2 separate regions of the Homo sapiens genome follow, and region 1 is linked to region 2. Evidence: promoter capture Hi-C in human tissues and cell types (Jung and others, 2019). All regions are on one chromosome and are shown on one strand. The core of a region is centred on a gene start or on the middle of the fragment in contact, and the rest is flanking DNA. Distances in the headings are between cores, read along the strand shown. Region 1 overlaps PIWIL3 (piwi like RNA-mediated gene silencing 3). Region 2 holds the start of SGSM1 (small G protein signaling modulator 1).

Region 1 (3,674 bases), core at 157-2,656, 86 kb before region 2:
CAGGCGTAATCCAGCTTTCCTTATGACCTTTCCACCAAAAATCCATCCAAATTCCCACCCCAGCACAAGGAATAACACAATGCTTCCTATATAGCTCATCAGTAATAGGTTAATTCTAAATACAAATATTAAACAGAAATTCAGTGTTGTTACTTTTATGTCTTCCTTTCCTGTCCTTTAACAAAAAAAAGTTTCAAAAATAAAGTAAACGTAGTTTTCCAAGTAGAGTTTACTTGTTCACAGATGTACTCTCTCTGTGACGAATGCCCCATCTTTTCAATTCTTAGAGTGGCCCTGCTTGGGGTGGAAAATGTTCAGTCACGTTCAGCTGTGAGATCTCTGTCACATATTTGAAAGGGAAACTGCAAGCCAAACCCTGTCAGTTCTCCTCTCTGGAAAAATCAGTCTGTGGTAGTATTGAGAGTAGAACATATCACTCTGAATCTCTCCTGTGTCCAATCAAAAACGATGAGAATTTAATGCTATGGACCTAGGAAAATATTTCAGACATCCTGCTTCAAAAGGAAGACAGGCTTACACGTTGTGGTTTCATTAGCACATCAGGTCTTCTTCTGCAGGTCAAAGGTAAAAGAGACGAGTTGACAAGGAACGATTCGGTTCCTGGTGAATGGACTGCCCCACGAGGTAAGCCAGCTTGTGGGCATAGTGGCAAGGCGCTGGAACTCGGATGATGCCCTTTAGTAGGAAAAGAAAATACACAACTAAATTTTTTTCACTTTACATCTACTTTCCCTAAATTTAAATTCATAGAAGCCAGTTCAGAGGTCCAACATTGTTCAATGTTGAATAGTACATTTAAAAAATCTGAAGAAAAAAGTAACAAAAAGTACTTACTGGCAAATTATAATACATGTGGCATAGACAATATGTTAAACGCTGTACTGTATCTGGGCTCAAGCCAATCGTGTCATAGATGACGTTATAATGAGTGGGGGTAACAGTCCCATCTTGCACAGACTGACTCACAATAAAAAAGTCATACCTGGAAATATAGGACATGTGGGTATCAGCTCATTTTAGAAAGAGGGTATATAGTAAACTTAATGTCTGAAATGAAAACATTTAGTATAATTGCTTACAAAAATCTATTCTATAGATTAAGTTTCCTTTACATTTAGAAACCTAACTGATAAACAACGATTTGAGAAATCAAGTCTATAGAAGGCAATTAAATCACTGACACAGTAACTCTCGTGGGATTTTGCCTTCAAGTACATGCACTGAAACCTAGAGGAAGAAACAAGATTGGCACATTTGATCTGATATGGCCATAGATAATTCTATTCGGAGATTCTTGGATGAAGGCCTGCTGCCTCGCTGAGAATCACTGGACTATATTTAAACTGTTTTTTTTTTTTTTTTTTTTTTTTTTTTTTTAGACGGAGTCTGGCTCTGTCGCCCAGGCTGGAGTGCAGTGGCGCAATCTCAGCTCACTGCAAGCTCTGCCTCCTGGGTTCACGCCGTTCTCCTGCCTCAGCCTCCCGAGTAGCTGGGACTACAGGCGCCCACCACCACACCCGGCTAATTTTTTATATTTTTAGTAGAGATGGGGTTTCACCGTGTTAGCCAGGATGGTCTCAATCTCCTGACCTCATGATCTGCCTGCCTCGGCCTCCCAAAGTGCTGGGATTACAGGCATGAGCCACTGCGCCTGGCCTTAAACTTCTTAAACAATACAACCGGTAAGATTGATCTATGTGTTATAAATATTGAATTTATTTTTATGTGTACAATCTTATGTTGTACTTTATGTTTATGATACTTTTTATTTGCTCCATCCTTTAATCCTTTCCTGCCTTATGTTAGATTGATCAAATGTTTCTGCCTTTCCTTCATTTTACTTCATTTCTCCTCAACTCTTGGTATGAATATCATTAATTCCACTGTGGTTTCAAGTAAGTCTTTCATTTGTATAATTGACAAGTATAGAGCAGCAGCAGCTTTATCATTTTCCCTGGTAACTAAAGAATCTTAGTGTATACTTTGACCTCATAATTCTTTTTCTATGTAAGTGCTATATCCAGTATTTTAGGTCTTGTTTTAATATACCCTATAAATTGTCATGTATGAAATCAAGGCTTTTTTATACTCCATCGTAACTGATCAGCATTGCTTCTTGCATTTCATTCTCTCTTAACTGTTTGATTTCCTTCTTCCTGAAATACAGTCTTTTTGGGTAGCTCTCTCAGTGAGTATCTGGTGGATCTGTTAATGTATATACTGTATAGGCACTAACTGAGCATGTTTGTATTTCACTGTCACCCTTGATAAGTTAGCCGGGTATCAAATTCTAGCTTGATGGTTATTTTTAAGCATTTTAAAGATATTTCATAGTATTCTGATTTCTACTCTTGCTGAATGTGATTTTTATTGTTTGTAAATATATTATTCCTGTGGTTGCTTTTAAATTTTCTTATGCCTGCTGAAGTTTCACTATAACATTTCTAAGTGTGAACTTTTATTGATTTTTGCTCAAATCTTGTTATTCTTCAGTCTTAGGATTCAGAATCTCAGACTTTCTCTTTGAATATTGCTCCACCCCACCACACCCCCATCATATCTTATCTACTACTGAAACTTCTATTTGGTATAGAGCAAATCTTATTTTGCCTTACATTTTTCTAAACATTTTTTCATATCTTCCATATCTTTATGGCTCCCCACTGCATTATGGGAATTTTGTGAACATATGTTCCAGTTAACAATTTGTTTTCTTTTATGTCTAACCTTCTCTTTAACCCTTCCACTGATTTTTCTTCGTTTTGACTATATTCATGTTTGTTAGATATTCAAATACAAATTGACCTTTTCATTAGATATTCTTACGGCCTTTATTCCTTTTTATATCTTTTCTTATTTCAATACATTTTTATATAGAATGTCTCTAACCATTTCATCTTCTGGAAGTTGTATCTAATCTTAATGTCTTAAAGGCTGGCTCTAATTCATAATGACTTGCATCCTCATAACAAGAAAAAGACTTCTAAATTACTGTTTGGAATTACTTCCTTGTGTCCATGAACAACAGAGCTGACTATACGAAACTATTTTGTAGCATATTCAGTATTACTTTCTGAACACATCATTTCCTTGTTCAGGTTCTTAGGATAAGTGTCATACAAAATGTTTCACATAAAAGAAACTGGTCTCTTTTTTCACACTGCTGTTTTATTTTTGTTTTTGTTTTGAGAAGGAGTCTCACTCTGTCACCCAGGCTGGAGTGCAGTGGCACGATCTCCGCTCACTGCAAGCTCCGCCTCCCTGGTTCACACCGTTCCCCTGCCTCAGCCTCCTGCCTAGCTGGGACTACAGGTGCCCGCCACCATGCCCGGCTAATTTTTTGTATTTTTAGTGGAGACGAGGTTTCACTGTGTTAGCCAGGATGGTCTCTATCTCTGGACCTCGTGATCTGCCCGCCTTGGCCTCCCAAAGTGCTGGGATTACAGGTGTGAGCCACCGTGCCCAGCCCCACACTGCTGTTTTAAAGCAGAAAGACATTTTAAAAATTGAAACCTCTGGCTGGACATGGTGGCTCACACCTGTAATCCCAGCACTTTGGGCCACCAAGGTGGGTGGACCACTTGAGGTCAGGAGTTCGAGACCAGCCTGGCCAACACGGTGAAACCCCGTCTCTACTAAAAATACAAAAAATT
Region 2 (3,657 bases), core at 1,158-3,657:
GTCAGAATCCTGGCGGCCACACACTTGTTAAACAAACAGGGATGAAACCCCCTCCAGGCTTGGCTTTGTCAATGACATAAGGCTCATAGGGTTAGCGTGGGGTGGAAGGAGGGTCAATAAGATCATGTGAGCAAAACCCAAAGCCCTTAGCGCAGTGCCTGCCACATAGTAGGTGCGCAATATATGATTATTTTTGCTGCCAAGCAACCATTTCCCATTCTCCTGGGGGACTTGCTGGAGATTGTGGAGCAGGGGTTTGTGATTGAGACACCTCTCCCCAAGCCAATGGGCAGGCTTGTGTCCCAGGTCAGGACAATCAGGCACTCCCTCCATAGGATGAAAACCTTAAACGAATGGCATTCTCTTTACCAGAGCAGCAGTGCCCTAACCACACTGTCCTTGCCAGGCAAATATTCCCAAGATTCCCCTTTCTGGCCTTCCAGAGCCACCTTGATTTCATCCCATTTCCCAGTTCTCCAGGCTCCCATGGGCTCTGGGATCACATATTATCTTCCCAGTTTATTTCCTTTTGCCTGAGGAAGCCAAAGTCAGCTTCTGTGGCTTACGGCCAGAGACCCCTGACACTGACCAATGGAAAAAAGGGGGCTCTGGATCCACTGCTGCACGGAGAGGCACTCTAAGCTGCCCTCTAGTCCTTCTGAAGGAAGGCCTGAATACTGGGGGACCCTAAAAGGCATTGCAAATCCTTAACATCACCATCAAAGTCATACAGGGTTTTGGCCCTGCACCTCTCTGGCCAACATCCCACCACCGTCCCCATTGTTCACACCACTCCAGCCCCACAGGCATCTGTGCTATTTGTCACTGTTTGACTGGACACACTCCCTCCTCAGGGACTTTGCATTTGCTGTTCCCTTGACTCAACTGCTCTTCCTCCAGAAATCCCCATGGCCTACTCCTTTTCCTCTTTGCTTAAATGTCACCTGCTCAGTGGGGCCTCCCTCAACCACCCTACTTCAGAATACGATCCCCAGGGGTCTGGGCCCTCCCTGTCCCCCTTGCCTACTTAATTTTTCTCCAGAACTTTCCAGCATGGTCTGTCCTTTTCTTACATATTTTGTTGTCCGCCTCCTAAACTCCATGAGGGCAGAGTTCATTGTCTGTCTTGCTCACTTAGAAATCTCTAGCACAGTCACTTGGCACAGAGTAGGTGCTCAATAAATATTGACCTGAGTTGCATTCTGGGTGGATACAGTTAGGGACTTGGGGTGACCAGGGGCTCTTGATGGAACAAGGCTTTTCCCACAGAGCCCACTGCTTGCTCAGCCCCAGAGATCCTGGCTGACAAGTGCCTCCTTTTGGGGCCAGACTCCTGGGAAAACCCCACTCCTCCAGTGACCTGCATGTCGGGGAGGGAGCCACTTAAGTCCCGGCCTCTCCTGAATGGATAACCAGTGTATCTTGGAAGACTCTTTTTTTTTTTTTTTTTTTTGAGATGGAGTTTCACTTTTGTTGCCCAGGCTGGAGTGTGGTGGCACAATCTTGGCTCACTGACACCTCTGCCTCCAGGGTTCAAGCAATTCTCATGCCTCAGCCTCCTGAGTAGCTGGGATTACAGGAGCACGCCACCATGCCTGGCTAATTTTTGTATTTGTATTTTTTTTATTTTTTGAGACGGAGTCTCACTCTGTCGCTCAGGCTGGAGTGCAATGGCGCCATGTTGGATCACTGTAACCTCTGCTTCCCGGGTTCAAGAGATTCTCCTGCCTTAGCCTCCCCAGTAGCTGGGATTACAGGCAGCTCGCCATCATGTCCGGCTAATTTTTGTATTTTCGTAGAGACGGGGTTTCACTATGTTGGCCAGGCTGGTCTCGAACTCCTGACCTCAAGTGATCTGCCCGCCTCGGCCTCCCAAAGTGTTGGGATTACAGGCGTGAGCCACCGCGACCGGCTGGAAGACCCTCAATAATAATAATTAATAATAATAACAGTAACAGTGGCAAGCATTTATGCTCGCTGGCCTTTCCCCCTGGGTCTGTATTAAGGGCTTCACATCCAATATCTCACTTAAGGCTCAGATCGTTCTGAGACCCATTATGCCCATTTTATACCACATTATACCCATTTTAAAGATGAGAAAACTGAGGCTTGGAGAATATCGGTAGTAGCCCCACCATTTCCTGTGACTTCCTGGAGCCTGGCCCACAGAGGAGGGTTCAGGACGGACGCTTTCCTTCCCCGCCCTAGGGAAGAGGGAGGGACGCGGGCGCTGGCGTGGAGGTTGGGGGAGCCTGAGAGGCTCGGGCGCTGGGTGCGCGGGAGGGAGCGTGCGTGCTTGGCGCGAAGGCTCCTGGCGCAGGCGACCCGGCTGCCCCGCCGAGCGGTGGCTTTCCGGAGGGGTGGGGCGGCCGCCTCGGGTCCTGACGTCGGGCGCCCTCCGGCCGTCACTCAGCGCTCGGCCCCGCCCCGCCGCGGCTGCAGCAGCAGCGCCGCGGCCGGAGGAGCTACCGCCGCCACCGCCGCCACCGCCTCCTGGGACTCGGAACGCAGCGCTCGGAGCCATGGCCTCGGCCCCCGCGGGTAAGAGGCCGCTGGACACGAGGGCGGCGGGAGGGCAGCGCCCGGCCCCCGCACCCTCTCTCGGCTGACCCGCGGCTCTCGTTTCTTGTCCCACAGAGGCGGAGACCCGACAGAGGCTGCTACGCACCGTCAAGAAGGAGGTGGGTGCCGGGGTGGGGGCACTGGGCAGGACTCCCCCGGCAGCAGCGGCCAAACGGGAAAAGAGTCTTCGTGGAAGGGTGGCCTCTGGCGGCGGGGGGGCGGCCAGAACAGGTGTGGGGCTCACCTGGGTGGGCATTGACCTCCCGCAGGGCAGGAGGCGCAGCGAGGGAGTTTGGGGGTGGGCGTAGGTGTGGGGAGGCTTTGGCCCATTTGAGGCTTTTTGCGGGGGCGGATGTAGCGTGAGGGCCCTCCAGGTGTGGGGCACACCTGGATGTATCCCGATAGGACCTCCTCTTGTGGAGGAGCAGGTGGGCGCGGCTCAGGAAGGGGACCTTCCAAGAGAGAGAAGCTGCTAGGGGGACGCCCCCCACAGGGTGTGCTGGAGGAGGGGCTCTGAATGGGGCTGCCGAAGGTGGGGCACGCTTCAGGAAAAGGCAGAAGGAAAATAAAACCTCCCTTCCCAGCCCCCGAATTCTCAGTCCTTGGAGCCACCTCCAAGAGCCAGGGGACTCCCTCCCTGAGAGTCACGGGTCAGTGAGCTGCTCCCCTGGCAGTAGGGGTCCCTTCACTCCCCCCGCCCCACTCCCACCCCACATTCAGAGGGTGAGAATCAGAGAGGTTCTGCCATTCCTCTGCCCCTCCACTCTCCTTGGGGTCAGCGCGTGGAGAGGGGGGCAGTCTAGTCTTTAGGGCTCATGGCCAATGACCTCCCAGAACCCCATAGACAGAATTTATAGTCCTTGGGGTAGCATCTCGATGCCTGGACTGCGTGCTCTGGTGTGTATACCTGCATGGGTGAGGACCTGTGGCTGTGAGTGTGTGCGTATGAGAATGTCTGTGCATCTGTCTGGAGATACCTAAGTGTATCTCTTTGCACTGTGTGTACACGTATCTATGTGTGTCTTTGTATCTGTTTTTGTGAGGGTGGGTCTGTGTGTGTATATTGTGTGGTGCATGAGTCTGTGAATGAGTGAT

The links. Contacts are between HindIII fragments. The study calls those that stand out against the background at their distance.
Region 1: a fragment that was not itself captured here is called in contact with the fragment with the promoter of SGSM1 in region 2 in 2 of the 25 tissues and cell types used here (neural progenitor cells and thymus).

Annotation. Positions count from the first base shown.
Region 1 is chr22:24,718,893-24,722,566 of GRCh38, forward strand. It overlaps PIWIL3 (piwi like RNA-mediated gene silencing 3), which reads right to left. Exons shown (of 21, transcript NM_001255975.1): 20 at 856-1,003; 21 at 142-696. The coding sequence ends at 580. Among named protein-coding and RNA genes, the nearest start is that of PIWIL3, 54 kb to the right of the region's middle. The HindIII fragment of the contact is 7,147 bases long and covers 1-3,674 here.
Region 2 is chr22:24,803,804-24,807,460 of GRCh38, forward strand. SGSM1 (small G protein signaling modulator 1) reads left to right here and starts at 2,408. Exons shown (of 25, transcript NM_001098497.3): 1 at 2,408-2,541; 2 at 2,638-2,681. The coding sequence starts at 2,523. RefSeq lists a silencer at 2,246-2,455. The HindIII fragment of the contact is 18,100 bases long and covers 1-3,657 here.